Regions from separate parts of the Homo sapiens genome. Here all the other regions are linked to region 5. The links are contacts of gene promoters, found by promoter capture Hi-C in human tissues and cell types (Jung and others, 2019). All regions are on one chromosome and are shown on one strand. Each heading gives the region's core, a stretch centred on a gene start or on the middle of the fragment in contact. The rest is flanking DNA. Distances are from core to core; before and after follow the strand shown. Region 1 has its middle 19 kb from the start of POMZP3. Region 2 overlaps GSAP (gamma-secretase activating protein). Region 3 holds the start of PTPN12 (protein tyrosine phosphatase non-receptor type 12). Region 4 has its middle 12 kb from the start of GSAP. Region 5 holds the start of CCDC146 (coiled-coil domain containing 146).

Region 1 (2,700 bases), core at 39-2,538, 480 kb after region 5:
AAGGTTCCCACTGAACCATGGAAGGTTGTGGGGCAAGGGCAAGTAAAATAACCCAGTTTTCCTACCATTTTGAAGTTGCTTTTTTCTTGATTCAGTGTTCATTTGGAGTATTAGTCAGTTTTCACACTGCTGGAAAGAACTGCCTGAGCCTGGGTAATTTATAAAGAAAGGAGGTTTAATTGACTCACAGTTCCACTTGGCTGGGGAGGCCTCAGGAGACTTACAATCATGGTGGAAAGCTAACAAGAAAGCAAGTACCCTCTTCACTGGCTGGCAGGAGAGAGGGGAGAGTGCAGGGGAAACTGCCACTTAAAAACCATCAGATCTCGTGAGAACTCCCTCACTATCACGAGAACAGCATAGGGCAAACCGCGCCCGTGATCCAGTCACCTTCCACCAGGTCCCTCCTTGACCCCTGGGGATTACAATTCAGGATGAGATGTGCTTGGGGACAAAGAGCCACATCAGATGATCTGGTTATTGTAAACCTTTGATTATTTTGATTATTTTTCTACAGTTCTCATGAAGTTGATTCAGACAGTTTTGCTTGGTTTATCAATGTTTCTGTGGGGGGATGGGGACTTGGAGATACCTACTCTGCCATTTTTGCTGATACCAGTCAACATGTTATATTTTCACTTTTACATAATTCAATATGTTTTCCAGTTTCCCTTGCGACTCACTCTTTGACCCATGAATTATTTAGAAGTGTATTTAATTTCCATGTGTTTAGAGATTTTCTGGTTTCTTTTTTAAATTGATTTAGTTTAATTATTTTACAGTCACAGAACATATTTTGTATGATTTCAGTTATTTTACATTTCTTAAGATTTGTTTTGGCCGGGCATGGTGGCTCACACCTGTAATCCCATCACTTTGGGAGGCCGAGGCAGGTAGATCACCTGAGGTCAGGAGTTTGAGACCAGCCTGGCCAACATGGCAAAACCCCGTCTGAAAAACACAAAAATTAGCCAGGCGTGGTGGTGCATGCCTGTAATCCCAGCTACTTGGAAGCTGAGGCAGGAAAATTGCTTGAACCCAGGAGGCGGAGGTTGCAGTAAGCCGATTGCACCTCTGCACTCCAGCCTGGGTGACAGAAAGAGACTCCATCTCAGAAAAACATTTGTTTTATGACCCAGGTTCTGGTAAATCTTGCTGAATCTTCCATGGGCAAAGAATGTGTACCCTGCTGTTGGTGTGTGAAGTCTCCTGTAAATGTCAGTTAGGTTCCATTGGTCGATGATGGTGTTCAGTTATTGTATTGTTTGCTGATTTTCTTTGCTGTTTTTTTCCTGTGAATGGTCTAAGCTTCCTATTTCCTGTTTCTTTGTATATTTTGTAGTTTTTTGTTGAGAACGTTGCATTTTAAGTGTTACAATGTAATGACCCTCAAAATGTGATTCTCTCAGACACCTGGGATTGCTGGGTTTTGCTTGTTGAGGTCTGGAGCTCCCCTTTTGTTACTTTTCCAAACTATTTTTGCAAAGTGTTTCTTCCTTGTGCTTGTGTGGTCACTGAAATTTGTTTCATTATCTCTGCAGTCAGCCAGCCACCTAACATGGATTTCCTTAAATAGGTGGCTTTAAATGGGGTGGGGCAGAGGAGGATTTTGTCTCTTTAATAAAATCTTCTGAAGGATGTCCCTGGGGAAGCCACTGTTGCTGAGAGGGCCAAATAAACCAAGGCAAGCATCCGGGCTGGTCCTCAGAGACCCATTGGACCCACCAAGGTGCAGAACCCACGGTTTTGGAGGACAGAGTTCTGCTGCTCGCCCTGGCATCAGCCAGCTGCTTCGGGAACTCAGGCTCAGGAATGGGGGAGTGTTGGCTGGTTGGCACATGCCACTCACTCGTGAAGATCAGCAGCCTCTCTCTTCATTGTTTAAGTATGTCTCTGGTTGTTAGGAGTTCCTGGTCATGTTTCAGAATTCCAAAAGAGCTGATTCCAATCACTCTTTCTAGCTCAGTGGTTGCTTCAGTGAAGGGACTGATCTCTACACTACAGCTTCCTACTCTGCCATCTTATGTGACTATTGATATTTATTTATTTATTGAGACAGAGTCTTACTCTGTTGGCTGGAGTGCAGTGGTGCAGTCACGGCCCACTGCAGCCTTGACCTCCTGGGCTTGAGTGATTCTCTCACCTCAGCCTCCCGAGTAGCTGGGACTATAGGTGTGTGCCACCATGCCTGGCTAATCTTTTTTTTTTCTTATTCTTTTTGTGGAGATGGGGTCTCGCTATCATGCCCAGGCTGGTCTCAAACTCCTGAGCTCAAGTGATTCCCTCCGCCTCGGCCCCCTAACGTGCTGGGATTATAGGCATAAGCTACCACACTTGGCCATGAGTCATTTTTAAAAAAACAGATTCCAACAACCTTTTTGATTGCTGTGTTTAGAAGATTTATATTTAATTTTGGACGGGTTTTTATTATCTATTTTCTACTTGTTCCCTCTGGGTTTTTTTATACCTGTTTCCCTTTTCTTGCCTTTTTATGGGGTACTTAGACATTTCTTAGTATGCCATTTAACTTCATATGCCGTGCTAAATCAATTCAGTATGCCATTTAGTATATATTTTTGTATAGGATTTTATAGGTGGCTGTAGAGATTATATTATACATACTTATGATCATTGGCTAGTATCAACCTTTTACCAATTCAAGTGGAATGTAGAAACTCTACTGCTTTCTAGGCCCCTCTG
Region 2 (2,700 bases), core at 14-2,513, 280 kb before region 5:
GATATGTTAGGACTTTCGAAGCATTATTATTATTTTGTTTTTAGAAACAGAGTCTTGCCCTGTCACCCAGGCTGGGGTGTGGTGGCACAATCATAGCTGACTGCAGCCTCAAACTCATGGGCTCAAGTAGGTTCCTTGAGCTCCTGCCTCAACCTCCCCAGTAGCTAGGACTATAGGCATGTGAAGCATGTTATTTAACAATGTGTTTTCAATGTCAAGTGTTCTAAGGAAAATTTAACTTTACTATAATAAGCACACATGAATAATTCAAATGGCCAGTTTGCTTTGCACAGTTATATCACTGTACTTTTTAAAGTAAAAATAATTATTTTAAGTTGTGTCTTAGAATGGTACCTTTAAGGAATTGTGTGATTCACAATGTTTTACTTATAAGAATGTTACGGACTTGTCCTAGTCATCCCTATTATCTATCATATGTGTGTGTTTTCAAAGACATAAGTGGAAGTATAAAAAGATTTACGCCCACCATGCTCAGTCCTACTAGACAGTTCCCCAAACTCACTGAGCTCTACACTGTTGATCCATTTCATTCTTTGAGCCCAAATGACTAGCTGAACTGGATTCAGTCCCCCTCTGACAGGCACAGAAAGCTTCTTTTAGAGTGCTTACTGCTAAGATTGAGTTATTGCAGGTTGGTTTTAAAACTAGTAACATTCTAACTTCCTAAACAATGACATTTAATAAACATCTGGTTAATTTTTTTTAGGATGATAAGGGAAATGTCGTCTTTGGATTATATGATTGTCAAACCAGACAAAATGAGGTAAAAATCATAGATTACTCATTGGTTACTTTACTGCCTTTAGAGTTTTCTTTGTCTCCTCCTTTTTCTAGATATAAATTCCAACTTTATTTTCTCTTTTTCTGTAAACATTTTATTTGAAAAAACAGAATTGCAATTTGAGGCATACACACAGACCAGGGTAGTCTTTGGTATGTCCAAAGAACTAAGAAAGGTTGGGGGTTTTATCAGAAAGAGAAATGTTACACATGGCTTTGAAAGAAAACTCATTGGCAATAGGAAAGTTTCCAGGAGCTGGCAGATCTCATCGGTGTGGGAAAGCAGTAGGTAAAACTAGTTTTAGAGCCATGGCAGTTTGTTTCAGCAGCTACTAGGTGAAGCTGTTCTTAAGTTTATGGCATTTGGTCATTTTGGCAGCTGGCTTGCACAATACCTGGGCAGGCCCTTGTGCCCTGTGTGCTGCTTTTTTCCTCTCCTGATCTCTTGATTTAACTCGATTGAGTATGACAGAATAACTCCAGTTCTTGTAATCAGTTATCACAGTACATGCAACAGTTTTATTCATTTATTTGTTGATGGACACCTGTTTCTAATATTTGCCTATTATGAACACTATTGTATACATAGGTATTTTTTAATTCTTTTGTGTGTGTATCTAGGAGTGGGAATACCAACTTTATTTTCTAAAAAATTATATTTCTTTGCTTTCCTTCTCTTCTCCCTTAACGATCTCTTGGTCCTGTTATCCTAAACAAAAAATGCAAGGACTATTGGACCACAAAGTGAGGTGAGGTCTCTTAGACCTTTGAGATTTAAGTAAAATTGGCTCAAACAAATTATTCAATATCCTCTAAGAAAGTAGGAGGTCCAATGTCCTTCTTGAGATTTGTGTACTCCCAGGTCATCCTATAATGACCTCTGACTCTTTCTGCTTCTGCTTAACCTTCACATGTCTTGTTTCTCATTATTTCTTAGTGATCCAGACAAGGAACCCCTTTCCTTATTTTTTTCCCCAAATTACTCACATAAGGCGTTGGTTGATGTGACAGGCTTTGTCTAATTCTGGGAGCAAATGGGAGGGAGTAATTTTGTACCTATGTAAAAACAATTTAGAATTGAATATTAGACATCTTTGAACTTAAATGTCCTTTATCCATTACAAATTTTTTACAGGTCACCTTACTCTTCAGGGTTCCAATACGCTGCTTGGTTAATTCTCTCTTCCCTTCTTCCACCCCTTTCACCTTTATTCATTAATTCATTCACCCATTCACTGATCCAACAAATAAGCATTGAGTGTTTTCCCTGTCAGGTGCTGGAGACACAGTGATGATCAACATAAACTCACAATACACAGTCTAGGGAAAGAGAATAAAATCTCAAGTTTTCAGTGCAATTGTTAGCTTAATTTCTGTGTGGCATGTATTCTAAAAAGGTGGATTGAGAGGAGACATCATAGTCTGTCTTCTGTCAATCCAGTTGTGGTGACTGCTGCTATCTTTTGTGGTCATATTCCTCTCTCCCAAGACTGTGAGCACTTGACAGTAGGAGCACTTTGCATACCAATGTGTTTTATCCCCGTTACCTTTAGCTTACTGCCTGTGAGTGGTAGGAGTACAGTGAATGTTTTTCACTGGATTGATAGTGATAGGTTCCCTCCAGAGTGGCTGTTTTTCAAAAATTTTCCAGTGACAAAGGTGCTTTGAATTCCAAAATGTGAAAGTTAGTCCAGAAAATAAATTGGCCAAAGGATAAATTAATAGGAAATTTAAACTAGCTTTGTAAACAGGCAAATTTTTCTTCTGAACCGTAGTCGCTAAACAAACCCTCCCCTTCTCCCATCTCTTCTCCACGTAGGCACAACCCTTACAGCCCATATGTTTTTTTTTTTTTTTACGGACCTTTTGATGGTTTTATTGAAGGAATGGATTTGTATA
Region 3 (2,700 bases), core at 28-2,527, 410 kb before region 5:
CAGAGGGCGGAAAGTAGGGGGTGGCGGAGGCGGGGGGGCGCTGGGAAGGTTATCTCCCAGTTCAGGGCTTCGGCCCGTAGCGTCGCCTCCGCCCCACCAGGACTATTGTTCCCAAGTTCCCCACCCCCACCCCGGATAGGAAGTGATAGTCACATCCCCTCCGCCTTCGGCAATATCCCCTGGGGAGTCCGAAGTCGGCTGGCTTCCTTCAGGATAATTCCCCCACCCACACTTATCCCCTGAACCTATAGTCACACGGACCCCAAGACCACCTCAAACCTGGGCCTCAGGAGAGGAGAAGCGGGACGCGGGTAAATGGAAATTAGGTAAACCCATGAGATTCCTTATGGGCAATCCTTTCCCAAGCGTTGGAGATCATGACTGCGACCCCAGAAACGGCCTAAGTCCTACCCTGCCCGCTTTGAGACCAGCTAGAGCAAAGGGATCCCAGGAGTTAGTGCCAACCTCAATACCCCCGTTCCTCTGTCAGCCACGATCTGCACTCCTCCCGGTCACAGCCAGATACCTTGCCTCGACCCTCCTGGGAGGAGCGAACTGCGCGGGGAGGTGTGGAAACGCGAGCCCCCCCCCCCGGCCTGCACCTCACTTGCCTACGGCTCCCGGCCCGGTAAACAATAGGTGGTCGCGAGCCACGGTGCAGGCTGCGGGCTCGGCCGCGCGGCCGCTCCCTTCGCGTCCCGGGAACCCGCGCGGGGGTCGCGAACATGGGAGAAGAAAGGAGGCCACGGGGGGAGGCGCTCTCGCCTCCCGCTGGCCTCCGAGACCACCCGGCTCACCCGGCTGGTGCGCGCCCCCTCCGCCCCTCTCCTCACAGAGGTACACAAAGCACTGGCGGCCCGGCCGGGAGAGGCGGCGATGGGCTCCGGCGCCGGCAAGAAAACGCGACAGCGAGGGGAGAGACTCACCATGAAGTCCCGGGCGAAGTTGTCCTCCCCATTGTGGTCAGGACTCTTCATGGCCTGGACCCTCTGGATGAATTTCCTCAGGATCTCCACTTGCTCCATCCTCCCGCGTCCCCCCGGCTGCGGTCGCTGGCCCCCCCGCCGCCCGCCCGCCCGGCACAGAGCCCGCTCCGTCTTCCCCAGCTCGTTCCCCCAGCACGTCCCTCCCTCCCGACCCCGCCAAGCCCCGCGGCTCCCTCCTCCTCCCCACCGCCCTAGGCGGCGGCTGCGGCGGCACCGGCTGGGCTCCCGACACCACAACTTCCAGGAGCAGCCGCCGCTCTCCCACAGTACCAGGCGAGCCGCTGCGCTAGCGCCAACCCCAACCCCCAGCTTGCTCCATCCTCCTTCCCCGCCCTCCTCCTCCGTCGGAGACGCCGCCGCCGCCGCCGCCGCCGCCGCCGCCTCAGGAACACAGCTAGCTCTCCGCTCGCCCTGCCCCCCCTTCCCGGTTCCTCCTCCCCCCCACCCCCCGCCAGCAGCCGCAGCCGCAGCCGCAGCCGCCTCTCCCCACGGGCGCGTCCCCGCCGCCACCCAGATGCGCGGCCTCGCGCTGCGGCTCCGCCCCAAGCGCTGCGCCCGCAGATGCATCCCCGCCCGCCTCCCGGCCACGCCCCCAAGCCCGCCCCGCCGGCCCCAGCCCCGCTTGGAGTGGCTGGAAGGCACTTCAGCGGGCGGCCTGGAGACCTGACTCCATTTCCGGGGCGTGGCCCCGCCCGGGGTGCTCAGAGGTCGGAGTATCGCTGGGAGGAGAGTTGGTTCATTTGGAGGAGGGAATGCGACTCTGAGCGGGCCAAGCCCTAGTGGGTCAGAGTAGGATTCTGATGGAATTTGCGGTCTCACCGCCTACTAGGGAGGAAAAGCAGTTTTCAGGAGTCCCGCACCGCCGCCAGCCGTGGGCTGGGACTACAAGTCACGGTCTGTGGAGTCCAGGAGTGGGGGCGGGCGGGAGGCAGGCTGGGAGCTGTAGTAGTGTCACCGCCACGTTCGCAGCAGGTAGATGCTCATCTTGCTAACGGATTGGTGAGAGTGGACAGCAATTAGGCTTTGGCACCTTGGAGCGTGGCTCCAGCTAAGGGAAGCGAAACGCTTCCTGGGTGAGAGGACTTTTATTCTTTGCTCATCCTCTTAAACCTGGCGAGTGAGCGCCTGAGGTTCGGAGTGCCTTCTTCACAGACGACGCGAATGTGGGGTCTTCGTGTTTGCCGAACTGAAGGGAATTTGCCTTCCTGCCTTTAGGTTCGCAGCAGTTCATAACTGAATAAGAGACTTTCCTCCATAGAATGGACTTTATAAATCTATTAATTTTTTTTTTTTTTTTTTTTTAGAGCTAAGGTCTTGCTCTATCTCCCATGCCAAAGTGCAGTGCTATGATCACGGCTCGCTGCAGCCTTGAACTCCTGGGCTCAAGGCATCCTCCTGCCTCACTACGTCACCAAGCCCAGCTAATACATTTTAAAAATTTATTATTTATTTATTTATTTATTTTTGGTAGAGAAGGGGGTCTCACCAGGTTGCCCAGGCTGATCTCGAATTCCTGTGCACTAGGGATCCTCAGCTTCCGAAAGTGTTGGGATTTTAGGCGTGAGCCACCGCGCCTAGCCTATAAATCTTTATTCATCTTTGTAAACTTCTATCAGAGAATATATTCTGGTCTAACTCATCATTTTACAAATAAAGCGACTTCCTGACATCCCCCAGCGTATTCTTAGCAGAGCCGTAACTAGAAGTTATTTTA
Region 4 (2,700 bases), core at 196-2,695, 310 kb before region 5:
AAGATTTAAAAGAAAATCAAGTCAATTTACATAATCCCTACAATGTCTACCGTTAATTATGTAAGAGGCGAGGCTGTCCCAGATATATAAGGTACGTCAGTTTCTTCCAAAATGTCGTTTTACCTATTATTAAGTTTTCATTGTCTCTCAAGGTGGAAAGCAACAGCTGTTTCCTGAAAATTGCTAAAATTGCATGAACAGTGTGGGAAGCAGGAAACATGCAACAAATACTTCTAAACTCAGAGATCCAGAATGAGATGGTTCCTATCTTCTTCAGTTCCGCAGCACTCATCCTTGACTTCCCATTGTGAAATGAACGACAAATGTTGGTTAAATGCCTACGATGTGCTGGGCTAGTGGTTCTCAAGTGTGGTTCAGCATCATCAACATCAGCATCACGTGGGAACTTGTTAGAGACGCAAATCAGAAGCTGTGGGGTGGAGCCTAGCAATCAGTGTTTTAATAAGCCCTCTATACAAGTGCCTCTTAGAATTGGCATTCCACAGGGTGATAGCAAGGTTGGGACGGGCGGGCCAGCCTGTGGGCAGTACGGGGAGTGGCTGATCACAAACAGCGCAAAGCTTATCCCACCAACTCGTTAGAGGGTGCTTCTCTTTCTGAGCCAGTTCAGGACTTGTATCTTGGAGGAGAAACTCCTCCTCTGGGATTCAGAGCTCATTCCAGATAAATGCTCAAATAGGAGATATTCTAACTTGTGGTTCATATTTTGTGCCAGCCATGAAAGCAAAGCTTCTCTCTATTGCTCTTGTAGCCCTCAATTTCGGAGCTTGAGCCTATCTCCAAGATGGAAAAACAAGGGACAGGAGGCCTAAAAAGGATTTGATCTCTATCATTACCATCTCTCATCTCACTTACCCTTCCCACTACTTTCCCCCATTTTCCTCTTGACCTCCCTGTGCCCAGAATGCTCACTCGAGAACTTGGGAGAGGTGAACAAGGGAGGGTGAGACGTGAGCTAGAGATGGCTGAGAGACAAGATGCTCCAGGGCAGTCCCCACATCCCCCGTTAACCTGCGTGCTTCCCATTCCAAGGGATGACATGCACCTTAGCTACCCTTAACTACACCCCAATCACTCCCTCTCCTCAGACAAAAAGCAATTCCAGGAAATAGAAGTTAGTTTTCACTTAAACAGGATGTGACTATGATGTATGTTTCAATTTCAGCTGGTGGTGACCTGGCTTCTAATAGGAACCCACATCCCCCAGTCCTTGGCGGAGAATGCCTGACAGTGTGGCCAGATTCCTGAGGTTTATGACCTTGTGACCCACAGAGCATTTCAGTCCTCTTCACTCAGCCTAGCAGGCAGATTTGGGGACTAATCATACTGGGAGTCACTATTTCCTGCAAGAAACCTTCCCTTAGGAAGCTTTGTAACATTTCTTTGCAATATCAAAGAGAGACTGAGAGACAGCAAGCTTTAATTTTCACCTGTGACTTAAAATTAATATGTAAATATAGGAAGGAGAAAGAGGAAACTGCGTGGATGGAATGACCTGAGACATCTGGGTCTTTATTCATTCCAATATTATTTTATGAGATTACTATTCAGCTACATACATGAAAGAGACTTCTGAATGGCAGACAGGGCAGAAGGCTTGACTTACCTAGATTGCATATAATCAGTATGTAAGGAGTTAGGATTTTTCTAACAGTAAAAGCAATCTTGACTAAGGCATTTGAAGCAAAAGTTAACACTACCTGAATCTTAGATCAAATAGAAGGGTTTACCCCAGAGAACTATCAAGCATTTTTTTCCAGAGATCTGTGGGGAAACCTACAATTTGATTTTTGAGGGTAAGTTGGGGAGTAGAGGAGAGTTTCTGAAAACTCTCCCTACTATTTCCTGTTTTATTTTTTGAGACGGAGTCTTGCTCTGTCACCAGGCTGGAGTGCAGTTGCACAATCTTGGCTCACTGTAACCTCCGTCTCCCGGGTTCAAGCAATTCTCCTGCCCCAGCCTCCCAAGTAGCTGGGACTACAGGCACGTGCCAAAACACCCAGCTAATTTTTGTATTTTTAGTAGAGACAGAGTTTCACCATGTTGGCCAGGATGGTCTCGATCTCTTGACCTTGTGAGCCACCTGTCTCAGCCTCCCAAAGCGCTGGGATTACAGGCGTGAGCCACCGCGCCCAGCCTATTTCTTCATCCTTAATTCTATTTTCCTGGTTCACTTTGTAGAATTTGCTACACAGGATGTCTTTCACTGTTAAAATTTTCATGTTTCCTTGGTTACTAGGTTGCAGTTTTCTCCTAAGCCCCTCTGTCTCTCTGCATATGAACTTGGTGACAGGGATTGGGAAGTGAATTTTTTTGATGATCTTATTGCTACTGTAGTTAAGAATCAGCACTGTTAAGCAAATGGGGCCTTGGGGATCATAGTTCAACTTCTTTTATTTTACAAATGAGAAAACCAAGTTCAGAAAAGTTAAGCAACTTGCCTAAGGTCACAGAGCCTGTTCATGCCAGGGCTGCCTCAAGAATCCAGGCCTGTTAACTCTGAGTCAAGTACTAAATACATGACTCCATTGCTGGCCTTTTTCTTTTCTTTTTTTTTAAATGCCTGAAATTCTTTACCCTCTTGAGACTCAGCTGAGCATTTGGCCAACCTGGTGTAAATATCAGGCTTTTTCTTAAGTGACAAAGTTTTGATACTATCAAAGAACACGGGAAACTACT
Region 5 (2,700 bases), core at 61-2,560:
CAAGAAAAGAACTATTGCAGTGGGCCCTTGCTGAACCTGAGCTAGCACCTATAATGAGTGAGTCTTCACCGAAAGAAGAATAAGGAGGGAGCAAGGACTAGAAGGACAGAAAAGAGGCAATGATAACTTAAGAGAACACTGAATTTTTAAAAATTTTAAAAAGGTAGTGGCTAGCAGAGAACCTGAGACTTGTACCCATGAGAACTTTAGCCCAGTCTATCTATCACGATAGCCCCAAGAATTCTGGTCATTGTACTTGGGTAAGGGCTTCAATTTTTTAAGGCACTTGCATTTTATGAAATGTTAGTGTTTGCAGGTGTCTTGGCTAAATAATTTAGGGAATACATTTTAGGAGGAAGTAGGGGCACAGAGGGGGAGAGAGAAACCAGGCAGGAAAGAAGAAAAAAAGAAGAAAATAAATCTTTCTGTTCCCATTATTTTACTGCCCATAGAATTATAAAAGGTAAACACACACACACACACACACACACACACACACACACACACACACACACACACACCTTATAGGGTCATTTAGAACCATCTTTCTTCATTTTAAAACTAAAGAAACAGGTCTAGGTGACACAGATGAAGCAGTGGCAGAGCCAGGAAAATAATCTGACCCTTGTCCCTGCTCTTTCCACCGCACCATGGTGACTCTCTTTTTTGTGTCTTTTTTTTTTTCACTCTAAAACTGATGATCATTTGTAGTCAAAGAGATCAATGCTATTCTCAAAACAAGTTCTGATCTCTCATAATTTTCTTGGTAACTCAGAATCAATGTTAAGTACGTTGAAATAAAAATACAGTACTTTACACGGTAATTTGGTAGACTGTGCACCACGGTCCCATCCATTTTCTTACTTGATCCTCACAAAAACCCTTTGAGGCAAGGCAAGGAAGGTATTATCATCTACATTTTTAAAGTGAGCAAATTAAAACCCAAAGTAAGGTCACTTAGGGTCAGGACGGAGCAAGTACTCTATTCCTATATTTGGAATATAGGAGGGAATACACTTCCAAAGAGGCAATTCCCTCAAAAAGCACCAATCTTGCTCTTTACTCTCTTACCAAGGCATTCTCCATGCCCTGGAGATGCCCGCACTAGGTTAGTGAAGCTTGGATCTTGACATCCACATAGGTTACTCCTAGTTTGCACCTAGTTGTCAACTTAAAAAGCGCAGTTTCTTACCCCTTCCCTTGGTCCTGATCCTTATTTAGGCTCCTATTTTTCTCTTTGGGATTTGGCCTCCTGGGTCTCACTCCAAAGCTCCACCCTCTCCAAACAAGAAGTCGCGTCCTTGGTATCCAAGGTGACCATGCAGCTTTACCCTCGTTGCCCCCTTCCGTGCTTCCCATTGGCCAGTGGCCTCCCATGTACCGCCCCTCCAATAGCCAATGGTCTTGAAACAAAGGGCGCCCGCCTTTCCAGCGATTCTAACACCTGCCCTCTTACCCGTGCTCCCCTGCGCATTGCCTCCTGGGATATGTGGTTTCTAAGAGGCGGAGCTCTGCGACTTTCCACCGCTTTAGAACTACGTATCCCGTCGGCCTTAGCGAAAGGGGGTGGACTTAGGCAAGGGGTCCAGGTCAGAGTTCAGAGCTTTCAAATCCCAACTTGCCCCTGGGGATTACGCAGCTGATGTTTACATCGCCTAGTCAAGCCAACCGGCTCGCTCTTGTTTCAGCAAACCCTGACTTACGTCTCCTATTTGACTTGAGGCGGCACAGTGGCCAAGTCGATTGGCCGTGGCAAGTGACCCTCCCTGTGGCTGAAGTGTTCTGAGGACTGGCGAGAGAGGCGCGCCATGCTTGCCCCCTGTTCAGGTTGGGAGCTTGGCTGCTTCCGTCTCTGTCTCCGTCAGGTCCGACTGTGGGCTGGCGCTGGGCGCTGGTCTTGCTGGGCTTGCCAAGCCAGGCCGTACAGCTCAGGTAGGGGCGAGCGCTGGCCCGGATCGGAGACTGAGGTCCCTCCGCCTGGCCCGGCGCGCCGAACTCTGAAGGAGTGGACACTGCAGGTGAGCCCGTTCGGTCGGCTGCGGGCGCGGCTCCCGTGCCACCTGGCCGTGAGGCCCCTGGACCCCCTCACCTACCCGGATGGCGACCGCGTGCTGGTCGCGGTGTGCGGCGTGGAGGGCGGCGTGCGGGGCCTGGACGGCCTGCAGGTGAAGTACGACGAGGATCTGGAGGAGATGGCCATTGTGTCTGATACTATCCACCCCCAGGCGTCCGTGGAGGTGAACGCGCCCCTGAAGTTTGGCAAGTGAAGTGAAGTGAAAACGGGTTTGGGTCCCAGGGAACGCACAGTGAACTTAATAAATTTGGTCGACGTGCACTTTTAATTGGTCCTGGCTTTCTAAACCTAATTTACAGTTGGCCCCTTCGGAAATGCAACTTTTCCTCTGTTCTATTCTTGAGTATCCGAGTAGTATTTAAAAAATTAGGTTCCCAATTATAGAAATTTTATACATCGAATGGAAACACGATTTGGTATAATCCAGGTCAAATTCTATTTCTGGAGCCGCTTGTGTTCTTCTTTATCCCGTTGTCATTAGCAAACTGGCTTATTTTTCAAGGTTGAAGTTTCTTGACAATTCATTCAATGGTATGGCAGTCCATCTACATTTCCCCTTGCTCACAGCCTGGGGGTGTGTCCCAAAACAGCCCTGTCAATAGGATGTTCCAGGTACCACCTGGTTT

What was found. The method cuts DNA at HindIII sites, captures the fragments that hold promoters and counts their contacts. A contact is called where the count stands out against the background at its distance.
Region 1: a contact is called between a fragment that was not itself captured here and the fragment with the promoter of CCDC146 in region 5, in 1 of the 25 tissues and cell types used here (H1 embryonic stem cells).
Region 2: a contact is called between a fragment that was not itself captured here and the fragment with the promoter of CCDC146 in region 5, in 1 of the 25 tissues and cell types used here (small bowel).
Region 3: the fragment with the promoter of PTPN12 here is called in contact with the fragment with the promoter of CCDC146 in region 5 in 1 of the 25 tissues and cell types used here (hippocampus).
Region 4: a contact is called between a fragment that was not itself captured here and the fragment with the promoter of CCDC146 in region 5, in 2 of the 25 tissues and cell types used here (H1 embryonic stem cells and hippocampus).

Annotation. Positions count from the first base shown.
Region 1 is chr7:76,644,444-76,647,143 of GRCh38, reverse strand. No RefSeq gene overlaps it. Among named protein-coding and RNA genes, the nearest start is that of POMZP3, 19 kb to the right of the region's middle. The HindIII fragment of the contact is 3,357 bases long and covers 1-2,700 here.
Region 2 is chr7:77,402,643-77,405,342 of GRCh38, reverse strand. GSAP (gamma-secretase activating protein) reads left to right here. Exons shown (of 31, transcript NM_017439.4): 3 at 728-784. Among named protein-coding and RNA genes, the nearest start is that of GSAP, 12 kb to the left of the region's middle. The HindIII fragment of the contact is 3,186 bases long and covers 1-2,700 here.
Region 3 is chr7:77,535,872-77,538,571 of GRCh38, reverse strand. PTPN12 (protein tyrosine phosphatase non-receptor type 12) reads right to left here and starts at 1,277. Exons shown (of 18, transcript NM_002835.4): 1 at 927-1,277. The coding sequence starts at 1,025. It overlaps LOC124901681 (a long non-coding RNA gene), which reads left to right and starts at 1,623. Exons shown (of 3, transcript XR_007060395.1): 1 at 1,623-2,201; 2 at 2,291-2,700. RefSeq lists silencers at 738-787, 928-1,137, 1,388-1,687 and enhancers at 1,758-1,977, 2,148-2,197. The HindIII fragment of the contact is 12,054 bases long and covers 1-2,700 here.
Region 4 is chr7:77,426,715-77,429,414 of GRCh38, reverse strand. No RefSeq gene overlaps it. Among named protein-coding and RNA genes, the nearest start is that of GSAP, 12 kb to the right of the region's middle. RefSeq lists an enhancer at 1,547-2,243. The HindIII fragment of the contact is 3,109 bases long and covers 1-2,700 here.
Region 5 is chr7:77,121,225-77,123,924 of GRCh38, reverse strand. CCDC146 (coiled-coil domain containing 146) reads right to left here and starts at 1,310. Exons shown (of 19, transcript NM_020879.3): 1 at 1,193-1,310. It also overlaps the pseudogene FAM185BP. RefSeq lists a silencer at 1,525-1,624 and enhancers at 1,520-2,019, 2,020-2,521. The HindIII fragment of the contact is 9,649 bases long and covers 129-2,700 here.